Linked DNA regions of Homo sapiens: region 1 is linked to region 2. The links are contacts of gene promoters, found by promoter capture Hi-C in blood cells and fetal thymus (Javierre and others, 2016). All regions are on one chromosome and are shown on one strand. Each heading gives the region's core, a stretch centred on a gene start or on the middle of the fragment in contact. The rest is flanking DNA. Distances are from core to core; before and after follow the strand shown.

The links. Contacts are between HindIII fragments. The CHiCAGO score rates a contact against its expected background, and 5 or more counts as called.
Region 1: a fragment that was not itself captured here is called in contact with the fragment with the promoter of KIF13B in region 2 in 5 of 17 cell types (activated CD4 T cells, total CD4 T cells, fetal thymus and 2 more); the score reaches 9.3 in activated CD4 T cells.

The regions. Positions count from the first base shown.
Region 1 is chr8:30,048,390-30,051,089 of GRCh38, reverse strand. No RefSeq gene overlaps it. Among named protein-coding and RNA genes, the nearest start is that of SARAF, 33 kb to the left of the region's middle. The HindIII fragment of the contact is 1,666 bases long and covers 451-2,116 here.
Region 2 is chr8:29,261,711-29,264,410 of GRCh38, reverse strand. It overlaps KIF13B (kinesin family member 13B), which reads left to right and starts at 1,341. Exons shown (of 40, transcript NM_015254.4): 1 at 1,341-1,431. The coding sequence starts at 1,377. RefSeq lists a silencer at 1,134-1,963. The HindIII fragment of the contact is 3,487 bases long and covers 1-2,556 here.

The DNA.
Region 1 (2,700 bases), core at 34-2,533, 790 kb before region 2:
AACCCTTCCCCTTTTTACACAAGTATATTTCCCCTTTTTACACAAAATGTCTCTGACATACTATTAGAATCAATGTAGTCTGCTGTAACTGGTCTCACATTTTCAATCATATAGGACTTAACTCTTTTCCATACAGCAAAATATTTCCAGATTCTGATGACTTCTCATCTCTTCTGCTATTGTCACTCAGGTTCAAGCCACTATCATTTGCTGTCTTAGTGGGGTCTACCCTGACAACTTGCATCAGTTAGGATAGGTCGGGTTATGCTGCAGTAACAAACAAGACCAAAAATCTCATTAGCTTAATATGTAGCTCACACCAAGTGTCTAACACAGGTTGGCAGGGGCTTTGGCTCATGATGTTATTCAGGAATTCTGGCCAAGTGAAGCTTCCTATGGCATGCAGCAGTGGGAGAGGCATGTGGAGAATCACACACTATACTTAAAGCTTCTGTCCAGAAATCACACACATCATTTCTGCTCACATTCCATTGGCCAAAACAAGTCCTATGGCTGTACTTAACTTTAATATGATAGGGAAGTACAATCCTAGTATAAGCCTGGAGATCAAAAACCATATGTATTTGGTGAACAGCAGTAAGGAAACCAAACCACTCTAATGATAATTTCACTTCCCCATTTCTGCCCTAGGACTTTGGATTTCCCTTATTCTGTTCTATTTTCTCCTATAACCCTTATCTTCTGACTTACTATATAATTTACTTTATTATTACTTTTCCTACCCCCTCTTTCTAGAATATAAATTCCACAAGGACAGGGATTTTTGTCTATCTTGTTCTATACTATGTCCATATTGTTCGCAACAGTGCCTGTCTCATACTAGGTATTCAACACATATTGAATGAATGAGTAACCAATGGATCATACATCAATTTTCTTCACCTTATACAACAGCCCACCCTATATGTGGAATGATGACACAAATTAGAGAAATTGACACTGTGCTTATTCAAAACCATGATATTTAGGCTGGGCATGGTGGCTCACAACCGTAATCCCAGCACTTTGGGAGGTTGAGGTGGGCGGATCATTTAAGGTCAGGAGTTCGAGACCAGCCTGGCCAACATGGTGAAACCCTGTCTCTACTAAAAATACAAAAATTAGCCGGACGTGATGGTGGGCGCCTGTAATCCCAGCTACTCAGGAGGCTGAGGCAGGAGAATTGCTTGAACCTGGAAGGCAGATGTTGCAATGAGCCAAGATCACGCCACTGCACTCCAGCTTGGGCAACAGAGTGAGACTCTATTTCAATAAAAAAAACAAAAACAAAAACAAAAACAAAAACCCAAACCATGATATTTAGGAAAGTCTTTGCAAGTAGGATGTCTTACTGGGAGAATGAAGTCTTTTGAATCCGGGACCTATTAAAGCATCATGACAACAAGCAGATTGGGAATATTGTTTACTGTACTGTCTTTATTGTTGGATGCATAAGCATGATGGTAAACATAATGGTAAGTCAATTATTTTCTTTTCTTATTTAATTAATTACTTATTACTTATTATTACCTTTCACTTGATGATTTCTGGAAGCTGGTGTTGGAATGGCAGTGTCGTCCCCCACATCCATGGCCACGATGTCCGGCTAAATTTTGTATTTTTAGTAGAGACAGAGTTTCACCATGTTGGCCAGGCTGGTCTCGAGCTCCTGACCTCAAGTGATTCGCCCACCTCAACCTCCTAATTAATAAGTAATTAATTAAATTAAATCAATTAGCTAATTAATTAATAAGTAATTAATTACATTAATAATCAATTAATTAAATTGGTCTTGTTCTGTCACCCAGGCTGGAGTGCAGTGGTGGGTTCATAGCTTGCTGTAGCCCTGAACTTTTGGGCTCAAGCGATCCTTCCACCTCAGCCTCCAGAGTAGTTGGGACTACAGGTGTGTGCTACCACACCCAGCTAATATTTTTTTCATTTTTGGTAGAGATGGGTCCCACTATGTTGCCCAGGCTGGTCTCAAACTCCTGGCCTCAAGAGATCCTCTTGCCTCGGCCTCCTAAAGTGCTGGGATTAGAGGCATGAACCACTGTGCCTGGCCAATTATTTTAAATATATGCTGTTTCGGTCCCTGCAGAGGCAGATGGAAGCTTAAAAGCTGTCAGCAGTCAAGCATCAAAAAGTGGAGTCAGATTCCTCATTGCGTATACATTCTTATTATTAGTTCAATACTGCCTAACTTGATATTTTAAATAACTCACAATTATTAGTTAGTTATTGGACTTCATGGAAATGAAAGGATCTGTTGTCATTTTCTGTAGGGAAAATGCCCGTGTGGCGGAGCAACAGGCAAGGATGCTTCTCAGATGACTTCCATCATTAAGTGTCTGTGATTCTGGGACATTGCTGTTCCAACACCAGCTTCCAGAAGTCATCAAGTGAAAGGTGATAAAGAAATTGTTTTATCTCATTATTTCCCTTTCTTGCCTTACCCTGTAAGCCTGGTCATAAGAAAGAAGAATAGGCTGGGCGCAGTGGCTCACGCTTGTAATCTCAGCACTTTGGGAAGCCAAGGCAGGCAGATCATTTAAGGTCAGGAGTTCAAGATCAGCCTGGCCAACATAATGAAACCCATCTCTACTAAAAATACAAAAGTTAGCTGGGCGTGCTGGCACACACCTGTAATGCCAGCTACTCAGGAGGTTGAGACAAGGAGAATCACTTGAATCTGGGAGG
Region 2 (2,700 bases), core at 92-2,591:
ATCCATCTCAAAAAAAAAAAAGTATTTTTATACTTTTTGACAACATTGCTTGTATTGAAGATACTCAATAACAGGATGGTTGGTAAAAGGGCAAGTCTTACCAGCTTTCTGTATTTACTCATCTGTAAAATGGTTCTGAGTTCTATTACTATCATTTAAACACATCTAAGCAGGGGTCACAAACCCACAAGGTCCAGGCGCATGTGTGGTAAAGCCACCTGGAGGGGGGCCGTGGTGAAGTGGAGAGACGGGTCTCTGATAAAGGTGGCTGCTGCTATTTAGTTCCAATCCACTCTGTCCAATATGTAATGTAGGCCCAGTACTGCATGCACAAATCTGATTTCACACTCTGTTACCCAAGCTGGTCTCAAACTCCTGGCCTCAAGCAATCCTCCTGCCTCAGCATCCTAAAATGCTGGGATTCCAGGTGTGAGCCCCTGCACCTGGCCACAAATCTGATTTTTATGTGTTGGCCAACACTGTTGGGCCAAACAGAACATGTTTGCGTGCTGGCTCTGGCACCCAGGCCACCTGTTAGAATGTCTGCCAGGGCTAATAAAAAGCTAATTTTAGTGTGGCCTCATTCATTAATTCATGCAATTAATGTTTATGGGTCTCTACTAAAGGCTAGGTTACACATATGTTAATCTTATTTAAAAATGTACCTATTTTACTAGGTATTAGTATCATATCCACTTTTCATATTAAAGACAAGCCCAGAGCGGTCAAATAACTTGCCCCTGGTCACACAGTGGGAAGCGCTGAGGTGGGCTTTGAACTCAGATGGTTTTCAGAGCCCAAGGTCCTGTCTCAAAGGAGGGGGACTCACAGGACAATGTTAACCCGTGGACCTATGGACACTCCCAGAAAACGTGATTTGCAACTTGTCGTGAAGGACGAGCTCAGCAAACAAGGCCGGACGTCAATCCAGGCAGAGGAAATAACTTGAGCCAGGGATCAAACACTAAGATTGGCAGGAAATGAGCAGGAAGAGGTAGCGGGGTCCCTGACGCCATCTATTCAATTGTTTTTCAGAAGAGGTATCAGCTCTTGAAGGCTTACTTCTCAATACTGGCTGCGAGAGCAAGAATGGTGTGTAATTTACAAAAGCCGTCATTGCTGTAGGTAAGTTGTAGCAAACGACTCGCGCCCGAGCATTCCCGCCCCCGCCTTCGCTGCGGCCCCGCCCACGACGACCCTGGGGAACTACAAGTCCCGCCATACAGCGGGGAGCGCCCGGAGCTCGCGCCGGCCCCGCCCCCAGCCCGGTCCCCACCCCCGGCTCCGCCCCCGGCCCCCTCCCGCCGGGTCAACCCCGAAGAGTCGCCGGTGGCCGCGGCAGACGGAAGCCGAACGAGTTCCTCGGCGGCTGCAGGATGGGGGACTCCAAAGTGAAAGTGGCGGTGCGGATACGACCCATGAACCGGCGAGGTGAGAGCCGAGCCCTCCTGGGCCGCCGGGGCGGAGGCGGCAGGTGCCTGGCGCGCCCTTCCCTCGGCCGCCGTGGGGGGTCCGGCGGCCCCGCCCCTATAGTCAGCGGCGGGGCGCGAGGAGGGGCCCGGGGACCCTGAAACCCGCTCCCGCGCTGAGACGCCCGGCTCCCTCTTCTCCCCTCCCTTCCCCCCTGGCCAGCCCCGTCCCTGGCGCCGTCGGGCCCCTCGTGCCGGCCCCGCTGCCCCTTCCGCCTGCGCCCGCCCCGCCCCTGCGCCCTTTTGCCCTCTCGTCTCCCCCGGAGGTTCCCGAGGGCGCCCTCGGCCCTCGCGCCCAGCCTCGTCCTGGCCCCTCAGCCTCGCTCCTTCCCCGCCAGCTGTCATCGTCGCCCCCGCGCGCGGGTCGCCAGCCCCTGCAGCCCGCCTCGGGACCGCCCGGGACCCCCCGGGACCCCGCGTCTCGCCCGGGTCGCCCAAGCCTGCACCGCCTTGGCCCGCGGCGGGAAGAAGGGCAGGGGGCCAGGCGGGTGCCCCGCGGCGAGTTCCTTCCACCTGGGCGTCCTGAGATTGGGGTCAGGTGGAGGAGATGCCCTTTTCGTTGTTTTTGGACAGTTGAGAAAGTTTTGGTTTTGCCTGAAGTCTCATTCATCATCTCTCAATAAATAGCTAAAGTGCCAAGATTCTTGTGGAATTGTATCTTTCTGACATTCTCTTAACTCTGCAGGGAGTGTAGAGAAGGCAGATAAACCGAGTACATTTAAATAATCTGTAGACCCGGGGAGTGGAGAGAACCCCAAAAGTCAGGGGAGGAGGTGGGCTGGGTCTTGGCTTTGATAGTCAAAGCAGCATGACTGGGTGAGTTGCTTTAAATAAGATAATGTGTTTGAAAACGCTTTATATACAAGGTCCTGTCATTGGGGGTCACTATTACTGTCTCAGGAGATGACTTTGCCATTGATGAGACTTTGAACTAATTAGAATCATTTAAGTACCAGAGACAAAGTTGTAGCTTCTTAGCAAAATCAAGTGTTGTTTAATTTTTATGTAGAAATTATAGGTTGTTTTCCTCTTCTTTGCTTTCTTTTGTATATATTGAGACATACAGATCAACCAGTTGACATAAGCTTTGTTGGTTTGTCCTTCTCGGGGAAATTGGTTTCTCGCTTGGAGTTATCTCATCTATGGGAATTGTTTTGTCCTGTTCCTGCTAGGTCCGATTAAAGCTGTCAGGTGAGTTTTTTTCCCTAAGAACTTAATTACTTTAAGTTCT